3 separate regions of the Homo sapiens genome follow, and all the other regions are linked to region 3. Evidence: promoter capture Hi-C in 16 types of primary human blood cells and fetal thymus (Javierre and others, 2016). All regions are on one chromosome and are shown on one strand. Each heading gives the region's core, a stretch centred on a gene start or on the middle of the fragment in contact. The rest is flanking DNA. Distances are from core to core; before and after follow the strand shown.

The links. Contacts are between HindIII fragments. The CHiCAGO score rates a contact against its expected background, and 5 or more counts as called.
Region 1: a contact is called between the fragment with the promoter of PTGDS here and a fragment that was not itself captured in region 3, in 7 of 17 cell types (activated CD4 T cells, non-activated CD4 T cells, M1 macrophages and 4 more). The highest score is 10.0, in activated CD4 T cells.
Region 2: the fragment with the promoter of LCN12 here is called in contact with a fragment that was not itself captured in region 3 in 6 of 17 cell types (endothelial precursors, activated CD4 T cells, naive CD4 T cells and 3 more); the score reaches 8.3 in endothelial precursors.

The regions. Positions count from the first base shown.
Region 1 is chr9:136,976,101-136,978,800 of GRCh38, forward strand. PTGDS (prostaglandin D2 synthase) reads left to right here and starts at 1,404. Exons shown (of 7, transcript NM_000954.6): 1 at 1,404-1,592. The coding sequence starts at 1,479. It also overlaps LOC124902312. RefSeq lists an enhancer at 2,464-2,700. The HindIII fragment of the contact is 17,671 bases long and covers 1-2,700 here.
Region 2 is chr9:136,950,826-136,953,525 of GRCh38, forward strand. LCN12 (lipocalin 12) reads left to right here and starts at 1,448. Exons shown (of 6, transcript NM_178536.4): 1 at 1,448-1,616; 2 at 2,067-2,203. The coding sequence starts at 1,503. RefSeq lists a silencer at 2,088-2,269. The HindIII fragment of the contact is 24,012 bases long and covers 1-2,700 here.
Region 3 is chr9:136,814,007-136,816,706 of GRCh38, forward strand. All of the region lies in intron 1 of RABL6 (RAB, member RAS oncogene family like 6), which reads left to right. It also overlaps the pseudogene NCLP1. Among named protein-coding and RNA genes, the nearest start is that of CCDC183-AS1, 6.5 kb to the left of the region's middle. The HindIII fragment of the contact is 884 bases long and covers 993-1,876 here.

The DNA of each region.
Region 1 (2,700 bases), core at 154-2,653, 160 kb after region 3:
CTGCTTCAGGCAGGGGTTGATAGGAGGTCCAGGTGGAGGAGTGGGTTCTCAGGACTGCCTTGGCCCCCCTGCACCGCTGCCCTCCTTCTCCCTGCCTCTCAGGTGCCTCCCGGCTCCCTGGGACTCACTCCCTCACCTTGGCCTCTGCCTGGGATGCTACCCGGCCACCCCCACCAGCCCTGACACCAGTGCTGCCCACTAGCCCCTGCTGCTACATAGGCATGCGCCTCCCCCAGTCTGGGCTCCTTGACCCCCGGGCACTGGGGAAGGGGAACAAGGAAGCAGTCCACACCAGCCCACTCCCAGGGCTCGTGCGCCCCCAGCAAGGGATGGGCCACAGAATCCAGGAAGAAGACGGGCTCCGGCCCCCAGTGGTCGCCAGCAGCCCCGTAGAAGCTCACCACCCCACCCCATCCGACTCACTCCTGCTCTCATGTACATTTCCCAGCTCCCCACCCGGGCTCACCTTCAGACCAGCGGCAGCGCTCACCCACCACGCCTGCCAGGGAAGCTCAGTCCCAACAGAATCCAGAGAGGGCCCACCACATGTGCCTGCCTGTGACGGCCTGTGACAGGGCCCCAGCCAGGGCCAACGAGCTGGAGGGGCCCAAGGAGCTGGGTGCAGCGCTGGGGTAACAGGACAGCCCCACGGGGTGCTCCCGAGTCTGGACCAGACTCGGGGTGGGGAGGCCCAGACTCGGCGGGGGGCAGACTTGGGGTGGGGGGATTGCTGGGGGAAGTTGGGGCCTCTGGCAAGGGATAGGGCCTGTGCTCAAGCCCAAAGGTGCCCCAGGCTGAAATGGGCACCCAGGGGTCACTATCAGAGCCCCAACAGCTGGCCATGGGGGAAGCCATGCCCAGCAAACCTGGCCCTCGGGACCCTGCGGGCCAGATCAAGTTTCTCTACCTTGGCCTGAGCTTCTCATCAACACTTCACTTGCTGGGCGTTTCAGGACCAAACTCTCAGGGTGGAAGTGGGGCTTGTGTCCCCTTCTGGGGTGGCAGGGCTCGGAAAGGGAATGATGGTAGGGGCTGTGAGATGTGGGTCCTGGCCCCCAGTGGGAAGTCACCAGAGGCCTCGGAGGCGGGCATGGCTGAGGAACACAGCCCCTGCCCTATCAGGGCCGCTGGGTTGGTGGGCCCTGCCAGCAGGAGGAGGGTGGGCAAGGTCCCTGCCAGCTCTGTCTCTGGGACCAGTGGGCAGGGGCCTCTGCCTCACCCCCACGCTGCCTCAGCTGGGGCAGCAGGCCCAGGCCTCTTGCATAAGCGCCCTGTGGGGGACGAGGCTGCAGCTGTGCCTGGCCACCCCATCCCCCAGCATCACGAGTGTTCAGTGGGCTGTCCCCGGGCCCTGGGTGGAGGCCAAGCCTGGCCCATAAATAGGGGTCTCCTCAGTGCCCTCCGCTCCTCCTGCACACCTCCCTCGCTCTCCCACACCACTGGCACCAGGCCCCGGACACCCGCTCTGCTGCAGGAGAATGGCTACTCATCACACACTGTGGATGGGACTGGCCCTGCTGGGGGTGCTGGGCGACCTGCAGGCAGCACCGGAGGCCCAGGTCTCCGTGCAGCCCAACTTCCAGCAGGACAAGGTGAGGGGCTTTCCTGCGTCATCCCCAAGGGCTACAGGACCCTGTCAGGGGAAGGGCACTTTCCGGCTGGGTCTTCCCCCTGGGAGGAGTGAGCGAAGTCCCGCAGTGCCGGGCAGTGCCGGCCAGGGACTGAGCGGGCGCGCAGGAAGGAGGCTGGGTAGCCGCCCGAGGAGGCTGCCCGCGAGAAGCCCTCCCTGGGCACCGCGTCCCGTCTCCCCTGATGGGCCACGCAGACACCGGGCCACACACGCGCCCACGCCAGCCAGACACGTCCACCCCTGTGGGCACGCGACCCCCAGAGGACACACGAGCGCACGTTCCACACCTGGGTGCCAGGACACGGGCGGGTGGGGCACAGGGATGGCGACAAACACTCCGTGCGCGGTGGGGGTTGGGAGGGACGCGCACCGCACAGACAGCCGGCGACGCGCGCTCTCGCCCGGGAGCTGCTCGGGGAAGCGCCGGAGCGCGGGTCCCCGCGCCGCGCGCCCCTCCCTGGCGTCGAGGAGAACCCCAGCGGTCCGCAGAGCTGAGCCGAAGACCCGCCCCGATCCCCGCCAGGAATGCGACGTCCTCTGCCGCCCGCTGTATGGGCCAGGCGCTCAGCCAGGGCACAGAATCGGGACCGGGGGCGGAGGGGCCGAAGCTGGCTGGTGGGCGGCGTGCGAGGGTGAGGGACTGTCCTCGGGAGGGGCGTGGCCAGACGGGGGTGCTGGGTGTCAGGGGCGTGGCCAGCTTCTGGGGCTGAGGCGTGAGGGGCGGGGCCATCTCCGGGGGAGGGGGAAGTGGGGCGTGGTCATCTCCTGGGGCGGGGCGTGAGGGGCGGGGCCACCTCCCGGGGCGGGGCGGGGGCCTGATGGGCGTGGTCAGCTCCTGGGGCGGGGACGTGAGGGGCGGGGTCAGCTCCTAGGGGGGCATGGGGCGTGAGGGGCGCGGTCAGTTCCCTGGTTGTGGACATGAAGGGCGGGGCCAGCTCTTGGGGCGGGGTCGTGAGGGGCGTGGTCAGCTCCTGGGGCGGGGATGTGAGGGGCGGGGTCATCTCCTGGGGCGGGGATGTGAGGGGCGTGGTCAGCTCCTGGGGCGGAGATGTGAGGGGCGGGGTCATCTC
Region 2 (2,700 bases), core at 198-2,697, 140 kb after region 3:
CAGCCCTGGAGCCCTGAAGTCCTGGGGGCTGGGCTCTTCGAGTGGCCAGGCTGGGGCTGCCACCCAGGGCAGGCTGCCGAGGCCCAGGGCACCTCCTGGGATGAGCCTAAGTCCCTTGTAAGCAGGGCTGGATGAGGGGAGGAGGTGGCCAGGACAGGGAATCTGGGGTGGGAGGGGGCAGCCAGGACAGGGACCTGGGGGGCCTGGACAGAGGCTCACAGGCCAGGCACACGGTGAGTGGGAGGCACCTGGCTCACCCTTGGTGACCCCTAACATGGAGTCCAGCACCCAGAGGCTTCAGCTACCTGTGAGGATGGGAGGAGAGGTCAGGAAGGGGACTCCACTCCCTAGCCCCATCGTCCAAGGGGTGCCAGGGCAGCTAGAAGCCCCAAGCCTGCCATTGCCCTCCCTGCCAGCCCTCTGTTTACATTTTATTTTTATATTTTTAGAGATGAGATCTCAGTCTTGCCCAGGCTGGAGTCCAGTGGCACAATCATAGCTTACTGCAGGCTCAAACTCCTGGGCTAAAGCAATCCTCCCACCTCAGCCTCTCAAGTAGCTGGGACCACAGGTGTGCACCACCACCCCCAGCTAACTTTTAAATTTTTTTGTAGAGATGGAGTCTCGCTATGTTGTCCAGGGTGATGTCAAACTCCTGGGCTTGAGAGATCCTCCCACCTTGGCCCCCCAAAGTGCTGGGATTATAGGCATGAGCCTCTGTGCCTGGCCTACTAATCCTTTCTTTTAGGCAGGACCAGCATGGGGTGCCCACTCCCATTAGTGGGGCTTCCCAGCCCTGCCCCTCCCTCTGGGCAGAGACTGCGTTTAAAATGCCCCAGCTGTCCTCACCAGGTTGCCTGGGTGCTCTGCAGGCCCCAGCCTCCCTCCTCGCCTGCTCGGGCCACCTCCACCCCGGCCTCATGGCCACAGGGCCCCTCCCTGGTCCTGTTCTTGCTCCAGGGCCACGGCCCACGCTGCGGTTCAGGCATGTGTGGAGCCAGGCAGGGTGGGGGTAGGGGGGCGGCTGGCAGGCCCAGGCCCTGCAGGGGGAATGCCCGGGTTTGGCCACAGCTGGGCCCTGTCCCTTATGGCTGCGGCAGGTCACGCTGTCTGCCTGGGACGCAACATTCTGTGACAGGGAGGAAGGCTGGGGCAGGCTGCGTGGGGCCTCTGAACCCCCAGCATGGGGCACTTGGAAGGGGGCTGAAGGGGGCAGGGCCTCAGAAATGAGAAGAAGAGGTGGAAGGTGGACCTGGGGGCCCCTCCTACCCCACCTGGCTGGAACCCAAGAGACCGCAGGTGGGTGGGTGGGACCTGAGGAGAGCCCACACCAAGCCTGCCCTGGGCACCACCTCTCCTGCCAGTCCTGAGGAGGGAGGCAGAGGGGCACACCCCCTTGGGAGGGGCACCTGCTGGGTATGTGCATGAAGAGGTGGGTCTCTGGGTCACCTGCCCATGGCCACTTCCTTCTCTCTGTCCCTGTGGGCCCAGCAGCTGCCAGGATGAGGCTGCTGTGTGGCCTGTGGCTGTGGCTCTCCTTGCTGAAAGTCCTGCAGGCCCAGACCCCAACCCCCCTGCCACTCCCGCCCCCGATGCAGAGCTTCCAAGGAAACCAGGTACAGGGGTTTTGACGGAAGGAGAAGCAGCCGGCTGGGTCTGAGTGCAGGGAGAGGCTGGTGGCTGAGCAGGCCTGGGGATGCTGCCCAGAGAGCCAGGACCAGCCGTGCTTCCAGGAGCCCCCAGGCGGGCCCCTGACCTCCAGCAGAGGAGGGCCCAGCGCAGACCTTCCTGGCACCCATTCCCTGCCGTCAGCCCAGCCCATCGCTCCCTCTGTGCGTGAGGGGAAACAGGCTCGGGAAGGCCGCACAGCCACTGGCCAGGGTCACCATGTCCCTGCCAGACCCAGAGTAGGCTCTGGTTCTTGCCAGTGTCCCTGGCGCCGGCCCAGCCAGGAGCACTGCTCTGTGAGGGGTCCAGAAGCTGCCAGGGAGGGCGGGAGGGGGCTCCTGACCCTGCCCACTGCCACCCCTGCCCACCGCCGCCCCTGCCCACCACCGCCTCTGTAGTTCCAGGGGGAATGGTTCGTCCTGGGCCTGGCGGGCAACAGCTTCAGGCCGGAGCACAGGGCGCTGCTGAACGCTTTCACCGCAACTTTTGAGCTAAGTGATGATGGCCGCTTTGAGGTGTGGAATGCGATGACTCGGTGAGTGGCTGTCCCTGCCGTTCCAAGCGGGTGAGGAGGATCCCGGGCCTGGGTCCCAGCCGCCAGTGGCTCAGGTGCGCCATGGGCCCTGTCCCAGCACAGGCAGCTTCATGACTCTGCCTGCCAATGACCAAACCCAGCTGGGGAGTATACAAAAAAGTGTGGGCAGCTGGGCGCGCTGGCTCACACCTGTAATCCTAGCACTTCGGGGGCCGGGTGCGCTGGCTCACACCTGTAATCCCAGCACTTCCGGGGCTGGGCGCGCTGGCTCACACCTGTAATCCCAGGACTTCAGGGGCCGGGCGCGCTGGCTCACACCTGTAATCCTAGCACTTTGGGGGCCGGGCGCGGTCGCGCACACCTGTAATCCTAGCACTTTGGGGGCCGGGCGCGGTGGCGCACACCTGTAATCCCAGCACTTTAGGGGCCGGGCGCAGTGGCGCACACCTGTAATCCCAGTACTTCAGGAGGCAGAGGCAGAAGGATCACTTGAACTC
Region 3 (2,700 bases), core at 185-2,684:
CTTTTCCTTTTGGTTTCTCTAGTTTAATTTCATTGCCAAAGTCTTTCAAACCAGCGAGTTCCAAGGCTCTTTCCAGGTCTTCAGCAGCTTGAAAATCCACATAGTCAGATTTCCTTGTCATACCCATTCTGACATCCACAACAGCAAGATCATTTTTAGCAAAAATATCATGGATACTAGTTTTTGTTTTTCTTTCTTTTTCGAGACAGGGTCTTGCTCTGTTACCCAGGCTGGAGTGCAATGGTGCTCACTGCAGCTTCCACCTCCCGGGTTCAAGTGATTCTCCTGCCTCAGCCTCCCCAGTAGCTGGGACTACAGGCACGCACCACTACGCCCGGCTAATTTTTGTATTTTTAGTAGAGACAGGGTTTCATTATGTTGGCCAGGCTGGTCTCAAACTCCTGACCTTGTGATCTGTCCACCTCAGCCTCCCAAAGTGCTGGGATTACAGGCGTGAGCCACCAGGCCTGGCCCATGGATACTAGTTTTTAACTCAGGAGCAGACTTGTTAAAGTTCAGGTTTCCAACAAAGATTGAAAGACGTTCCAGCCTGGCCAACATGGTGAAACCCCGTCTCTACTAAAAATACAAAAATTAGCCGGGTGGTAGTGGTACACGCCTGTAATCCCAGCTACTCAGGAGGCTGAAGCAGGAGAATCACTTGAGCCTGGCAGGTGAAGGTTGCAGTGAGCCAAGATTGCGCCACTGCAGTCCAACCTGGGCGAGAGAGTGAGACCCTGTCTTAAAAAAAAAAAAAAGGCACAGTTGGTTCTGTGCTTCTCACTCTCCACTTTGTGTTTCTTGGCTTCAGAAGCTGCTGTTTGGTCATTTCCTTCATTTTCCAGGTGCTTCTTTGACAGACCCTTCCTCCTCTTTGTCGTCTTCATCACTTCATCCTCTTCATCATCGTCACCCTCGTCCTTGTCCTCATCATCCTCTTCATCTTCATTCCCAGCCATCCTCTTGGCTTTCCCAGGAACAGCATTTGTAGAAGCTTTCTTTCCTTTGGCTGGTGTTGTTTCCATAGGTGCTGCTTCAGAGCCATCTTCCTCAGCATCGTCCTCATCGTCCTCGTCCTCATCCCCTGAGGCAGGGGCACCCGCTGCTGCCTTCATCACTGCTGGTTCAGAGTCATCCTCCTCCTCATCGCTGTCTTCCTTCTTGGCGTTCTTGCCGTTCTTTGCCCCCTTGGCTGGGGTGTCCCTTCTTGCCAGGAGCTGCTGCCAGTGCTTTGCCTGCTATGGCTCCCTTCTTGGCAGGTGTGGCGACTGCTTTGCCTGGAGTGACAGTTGCTTTCTTGGTGGGTGTGGCACCTGCAGCCTTTTTTGTTCGGGAAACTGTCACCTTCTTGGCTGGGGTTGCAGCAGCCTTCTTGCCTTTCTCCTGAGGTGTGACAGTCTCTTCTCCACAGCTGTCATCTTCTTCATCTTCTGACATTTCCTCATCTTCACTTCCTCCTTCTGCCTCCTTTGGGGGAGCAGCCATTTTCTTGGGGTCACCTTGGTTTTTACCTGCCTCGACACCAAGTAGTCTGAAGCTGCTGAGGATGGGAAATCTTTGCAGGGTGCAGAGTGGGAGAGGAGCAAGGTGTGGCTGACACCAGCTGCAGCACAGGCTGTCAGGGTGGGGAGGTGGCTGGGCCCTTGTAATGGGCCCAGGAGATGCTGCTGGCACTGTGAGAGGGCCTGGTTAGGAGTTAAACCTTCATGCATCTGAGATAAATCATAAGCTCTTCTTGGTATGAAAATGTAAGAAAATTATTCCATATTTTGCAGGAAAGCTGCAGGAATGTGAAGGAGTTAAATTGAATCAGGGTAAGAAAGGCTCAGGGCCTCAAATAGAGCTCTGTGTTTTCTGCATTGTATCTTCTAAAACAAGCTTAGAACAGAGGTCGTGTTCACATCCCGTTTAGTAAAAGAGCAGGTTTACCATGAGGTTAAGTACAGGTAAGTACAGGGCTTCTTAGCGTTTCTTGGATGAATCCTAAAGGTTTTCCAGGAGAATCACTTAGCTTATTGCAGCCAACATTTAAGATTCTGAAGTTAAGCAGAAAAAAAGAAAACCCAAGATCAAGGGACCAGCAGGAGAAAAAAAAGATTCTGAAATTGATTTTATTTATTTAGGGTCTTGCTCTTTCGCCTGAACTGGAGTGCAGTGGCGCAATCTTGACTCACTGCAGCCTTCACCTCCCTGGCTCAAGCAATCTTCCCACCTCAGCCTCCTGAGTAGCTGGGACTACAGGTGCACGCCACCATGCCTGGCTGAGTTTTGTAATTTTTGTAGAGACAGTGTTTCACCATGTTGCCCAGGCTGGTCTCAAACTCCTGGGCCCAAGCGATCCATCTGCCTTGGCCTCCCAAAGTGCTGGCATTACAGGAGAGAGCCACTGCGACCAGCCTAACTTTTTAACTTAAAAGTAGAGGTTAAGTTGGGCATGGTGCCTCACTCCTGTAATCCCAGCACTTTGGGAGGCCGAGGTTGGTGGATCACTTGAGGTCAGGAGTTTGAGACCAGCCTGGCCAACATGGCAAAACCCTGTCTCTACTAAAAATAACAAAAATTAGCTGGGTGTGATGGGCACATGCCTGTAATCCCAGCTACTCAGGAGGCGGAGGCAGGAGAATTGCTTGAGCCTGGGAGGTGGAGGTTGCAGTGGGTCGAGATCGCGCCACTGCACTCCAGCCTGGGTGACAGAGTGAG